2 separate regions of the Homo sapiens genome follow, and region 2 is linked to region 1. The links are contacts of gene promoters, found by promoter capture Hi-C in human tissues and cell types (Jung and others, 2019). All regions are on one chromosome and are shown on one strand. The core of a region is centred on a gene start or on the middle of the fragment in contact, and the rest is flanking DNA. Distances in the headings are between cores, read along the strand shown.

What was found. The method cuts DNA at HindIII sites, captures the fragments that hold promoters and counts their contacts. A contact is called where the count stands out against the background at its distance.
Region 2: a fragment that was not itself captured here is called in contact with the fragment with the promoter of MAGI2 in region 1 in 1 of the 25 tissues and cell types used here (hippocampus).

What each region holds. Positions count from the first base shown.
Region 1 is chr7:79,451,896-79,454,917 of GRCh38, reverse strand. MAGI2 (membrane associated guanylate kinase, WW and PDZ domain containing 2) reads left to right here and starts at 1,251. Exons shown (of 22, transcript NM_012301.4): 1 at 1,251-1,898. The coding sequence starts at 1,598. It overlaps MAGI2-AS3 (MAGI2 antisense RNA 3), which reads right to left and starts at 1,961. Exons shown (of 4, transcript NR_038346.1): 1 at 1,727-1,961; 2 at 1,263-1,331. RefSeq lists an enhancer at 2,511-2,805. The HindIII fragment of the contact is 8,431 bases long and covers 1-3,022 here.
Region 2 is chr7:80,128,142-80,130,889 of GRCh38, reverse strand. No RefSeq gene overlaps it. Among named protein-coding and RNA genes, the nearest start is that of GNAI1, 5.3 kb to the left of the region's middle. RefSeq lists an enhancer at 2,672-2,748. The HindIII fragment of the contact is 4,059 bases long and covers 1-2,748 here.

The DNA.
Region 1 (3,022 bases), core at 2-2,501:
TGCCCCTGTCCTCCCCTCTCTTGGATGCAAACCTGGCGAAAAGAAGGGAACACTGCTTGGGGTCAGCGAGCTGAGTTCCAGCTCCGAATGTACCATTTTCACCCTCGGGAGTCTTCTCCCCTTTCTCTGTGAGCAAAGGAGTGTTGGGCCAGACCGTCTTAAGGATTCTTCCCCAGGTACAAGCCGGACTCTGGCGGCTTTCCTGGGCAAGGGAGTGTCTCCGCCTTGTCTCTGCCGCAGGTCCCTGGTTAAATTGTCAATTTCTCTGCGGAGGCTGCTCACTGCATCCGCTCCCTCCACCCCTAGCCCTGTAGACCCCTTCTCTTTCCCCTACTTGGGAAAAGTGAAGCCCCTTATCCTTGGATAGCCTTTCACCAGACAACCGCAGCCGTCCGCTAAATTCCCCTACTGGCGGGACGCGCGGGCGGGGGCCTGCCCCGGGGAATGCGAGGCTGCTTCCCTTCTGCGTAATCAGGGTACGCAGCCTCCAGTTCTCTAACTTTCTCCTTCTCTAAGAGGGAATTTCGAGAACTTTAAGACAAATAAGTGACTATATAGATGAAGACATGAAACCTCTCTACACAGTGAACTCCCCCACGCTACAAGGCTCCCAGGGATCCCAGGCCTTCTCCCGCAATGCCCCGCCGGGTCCCCCGCCCCAACTCCTTCTCACGGCAGGATCCCGCGCCAGGACGCTCGCAGAGCCCGAGATGTGGCACCAGGCGCGCCACAAGTCCAGGTCCCGCTATTTCTGCTCCATCGGAGCCCAGGTCGGAGGGAGTCAGCGCGTCCTCCTCGCACAGGAGCCTGGCGCGCGGCTCGGTCGCACAGAGGCTGAAGAAAGGTCCGCACTGGGCTCGAGGCCCTTCCTGCCGGCCTCCCCACGCCGGGCCTAGGCTCCCCTCCTTCCCGGCTCCCGCCTCCTCCCGTAGGCTGCCAGGCGGACCCAGCCTGCCTCTCTCTCTGCCTTCACTACCGGGTCAAGCTGCGGAGGGAGGGAGGGAGGCAGCGGCGAAGCCCTCCGTGGCTCCCCACCCGGCGCGCGCGCCCCTCCTCCCCTGCCTCCTCCCGTCTGCCAGTACAGTAGAACTAGTACACACACACACACACACACACACGCACACGCACCCTGCCACTGCAGCTGCCATGGATATCAGCTAACAACACACACCCAGGCGCGCGCGCGCGTTCCCACTCGCACCACGCAGGAGTGGCCCCCGGCATCCCTACCCTCCTTCCCCACCCCCACCACACCCGCTCACCAGCTCGGCTACTGCTCGCTCCGGCTGCCGCCGCCGCCGCCGCCGACGCCACCACCACTGCTTCCTCTGCTGCGGGGCCACAGCCTTGAGTGTCATTCAAGGGACAGCACAACCTCATCCAAGCTCTCCTACCTCTGCCCAGCCGTCCCTCTCATCCTCCCCATTCCTCGTCCACACTCCATCCAAAGAAGAGGGAAAGCACCGAATAGAGGGGGGCGAAGGCAAAGTCTGCTGTTCTTCCCCCTGGGCCCCCTTGCTCCTCCATCCTCATTCTCTCACCACCAGCCCCCCTAACCCCAAGGAGCCCAGGAACTGAGGCGACTCGCCCCACTGCCATGTCCAAAAGCTTGAAAAAGAAAAGCCACTGGACTAGCAAAGTCCATGAGAGTGTCATTGGCAGGAACCCGGAGGGCCAGCTGGGCTTTGAACTGAAGGGGGGCGCCGAGAATGGACAGTTCCCCTACCTGGGGGAGGTGAAGCCCGGCAAGGTGGCCTATGAGAGCGGCAGCAAATTGGTGTCGGAGGAGCTGCTGCTGGAGGTGAACGAGACCCCCGTGGCGGGGCTCACCATCAGGGACGTGCTGGCCGTGATCAAACACTGCAAGGACCCCCTCCGGCTCAAGTGTGTCAAGCAAGGTGAGAGCAGCGGCTTGCTCAGTGTTTTGCCGGGCGGTGGGACCGCTCGGGGCGCAGGGCAATGAAAGGGTGGCCGCGCATGTTGAAGGGGGTGTGTTGCGCGATGATGGGGTGGGGGCCAGAGAGCACCCGCAGTGCAAGTGAGTTTCGCCGGGGATTCGACTTGGGGGCTAAAGGGAGGGGAGGGGCAGGTTGTGGTGTGGCGTGCAACTTTGTTTGCTCAGTTAGACCCTCCCCTTTGGAAGGTGCTCGGCCTGGTCTGACCTCCTCAGAGCTGCTGGGGCAAATTGAATGTGCGTCAGTGGCATCACCCGAAGCGGATGAAGAGCTTTTGGGGAAGGGAGGAAGGAAGAAAAGAAAGAAAGAATGGGAGGAAGGGAGGGAAAGAAGGAAGGAGCAACTTCAGGGTGCAGCGGCATCACCAGCGGGTCTGGGAAGAGAAGGTGGTGGGGTGAGCGGAGAACTGCGTCCAGCGTTTCTGGGGCTGGGCTGGGGGCGCCTGGGTCCCCAGCTGTCCCTTAGGGATCCGTGAGCCACCGCTGGCGAAGAAAAGAAGGGACAAATTGCTTTGGGCGCTTTGACGGGTCTTCTGTAACTTTTCCCCTTCTTCACTCCGTGTCCCCCTCCCCCGCTCACGGTCGTGTCATGTGGGCATCGCGCGTCACGTGCGTACTGACTAACCCCTGCGCTCACCCCTAGCCAGCCCGGGGGAGGAGGCTCCGGAAGAAGGCGCGGTGCTAGGAGCGCAGTCTAGTGCTGGGCGGGGGTCGGAGGAGATGAATGGTTGTCGGAGGAGATGAATGGTTGTCCGCATGGACTTTACTCAGGGGTTGCCCTCATTGAGTGGAAGTCCTCTGTGGTTGGGCTCTCCTCTGGCTCCGATTTGGGGGGCGTGTTTTGGGGGAGGAGCTGGATGAAACCCTGGCCGGTTCCAGCCCAGGCTCCCTCAGCTCCAACCTGACTTAAATGAACCTCAATTGGAGGCTGTGATGTGGATTTGGGGAGATTGGAATCATCCAGAACTCCCTGTCTTTGCTCGAAAGAAAATTATGGTGCAGAAGGAGAGAAGAGTGAGATAAAAGTTTGAATAGAGGACAACTTTAAGTAGAATAAAGTAGTAGCTT
Region 2 (2,748 bases), core at 150-2,649, 680 kb before region 1:
TCTTGGGTATGTCTTTATTAGCAGCATAAGAACAGACTGATACAGTTATGGGACAAAGGAAAAAATATGGCCACCCTACTTTCTGACCACCACTTCAGACCTTTTCATCTCACCCTCTGTTACGTTATTACCATCAATTCTCCAGTCCCACAGAGACCTTCCATCTACCGACCACATGCCTTTTCTCTTTCTGTCGTGTGCTGCATGTGCTAATGTCTCTCCTTATGCAACTTATATCCCATCTTCCATCAGGACAATTATTCCTTTGCAATATCCTCAAAACACTCCCACCATTGTATTCAACAGGAAAAACTTCAAATCTGGTTAAATCTACTCTGCCTCTGTATGACTATACCTGTTCAGCTGAGCTTGAACAGAGGAAAACACGGTAATCAACAACTCCACATTTCTGTTTGCTCAGGCCAAATACTTGGAGTCATCCTAGATTCTTTCCTTTCCTGCAAGCCTTAGTTATTCAATCTGTTAGGAAATCCTACTAACTTTGTCTTCAAATATAACCAGAACTTGGCCAAATATCGCCATCTTTACTGATAGACACTGGAGATATTTATCAAATATTAAATAACCTGCTTTCTGCTCCCTCTACTTTTACCTTAATCGCTTACTGTTCCCACCTAGCAGCCAGATGCATCCTTTTAAAATGTCAGGGAGAACTATCCATTCACTTTCCATCTCACTTAGAGGAAAATCTCATCTAAAATCCTTATGATGGCATACAAGGACTTACCCTTTTTTTTAACCATGTGCCTCCCCATAGTATTTTCTGCCATTCTCCTTGTTGTCTGGTTCAGCCTCCCTGACCTCCAGACTGTTTGAACTTGCCAAACACACTCCATCATTGGCCTTGGCATTTATGCTCCCCCTGCCTGGAACACTCTTGAGCCAGGTATCTGCTTGACTCACTCCCTTATTTCATCCAAATCTCTGTTCAAATGTAATCTTATCAGAGAGATATCTTTCCTAACTACTCAACAACCACTCTTTATTCCCTTATTACACACTATAATTTCTTTATATCTCTTATCACATAGCATATATATATTTGTGATTATGTGTTTATTACCTGTCTTCCCTCCCTTGAATATAAATTCAAAAGAGCAGAGACTTTGTCTTTCTTGCTTACTGTTTTATGTCCAAGACCTAGAACAGTAAAACCCGCAGTAATTGAATAAAGAGGAGCCTCTGGATCTAAAGTATAAATCTAGCTTTCTAAATCCATTAATTCATTTATTCAACAATATTAACTGAAGACCTATTATAAGCCAGGTGGTGTTCTTAGCACTGGGAATAAGGTGATGAATAAGACAGATTACATTGACGAGGAGATGGTGGCAGTGGTAGGAGGGAGATATTAAATAAATACATAAGTGGATCAATTTAATTGGATAAAATAAAAATAGTTATAAATGCTATGAAAGTAATGAAGCAGTGTTTTACAAGAGAGTGCACCAGTTCAGGTCTTCTGAGAAGCAGACGTCAAGACAGAATTAGACAAACAAGAGATTGGGAGAAGATTCTGTGAAGGATAAGAGAGAGTAGGAGCAGGAGTAGCTGGGGAGCACTTCAAATGTGATGCAGCTCTGACACCTGGACAAGGAGAGAAGGAAAGAGGGAGTTTGGGACAGGTTATGGTGCAGCTTGAAGAAAGTCTTGGCCAACCTGATGAGATCTCTGTCCCACAACCCAGTCCTGAGTAGATATTGTTCATTAGGGAAGTCCCGTACTGGGCGGAAGTGGTGAAGTGGGCTGGGTCTAGTACCCCTATCTTACTCAGTCACAGGCTCAGGGCAGCCTTGGAAGAGAGAGCCTCAGGCCTAAGTGAGAACACTGCAATAGATCTAAAGATGGGGCAGTTGGAGGCTATCAGCCAACTATGCTCCCTTAAAGGGTCATCTGAATGGTGCACCTTCGTGGCCACAACAAGGAGTTACTCTGAGGGAAAGATAGGTACTTTCAACTGAACATTCATGAAGATTACTCTAATGAGGTGACAACGTTTGAGCAGAGAACCAGATGGCTAGAAGGAACCATGTTTGGAGGAAGAAGATTCCAGTGCCTTTCAATGTTGAATACAAGGGCAACAGCCCTAGGGTGGAATGGAAGTTGACTTGATCAAGGAACTCAAAGGTTAGTTTGACTGAAGTGGAGATGAGAGAGGTAGGAGATCAGGGAGGCGAGGGCTGCAAGGTAGGCAGGAACCAGATCCTATAGAGCTGTGCAGGCCATTCAGGTGGAGGGAATTTTTTCTACTTTGGAATTTGTAAACCTCAGTTTCTTCTTCAACACTGGAGATATTAGAAGTGTTGTGTTAAGTAAGGTAACTCATAACACAGTTCCAGGCACATCATGTGCTCATAATTATAGTGCATTTTTCTTTCTGTTTTGTCAGATCCAAGAATAAGAACAAAATAGGAAAAAGAAAGAGATTAAGGTGACAGGGATAATTGAGGACTTTGAGGGCCAGAAGGAGGGATGTAGATAAGATCCGAAGAGGAGAAATTGTCATCAAATTCATGATGTATCCGTTTGTATCTTGATGGGCAACAATAACATTTTGTACATATTTTGTGATTCCTATCTGCATTGTGTTTTCATGGTTCTCAAGCTTCCTATTTTTCTTTTTAAGAATAAACCTAAGAATGAGGACATGTCTTCCCCTGCCCCAGTGTTGTTTGCCCTTACCAAAATTTCAAATATGCTGTCCTAACAGAGGATCAAGCAAACCTT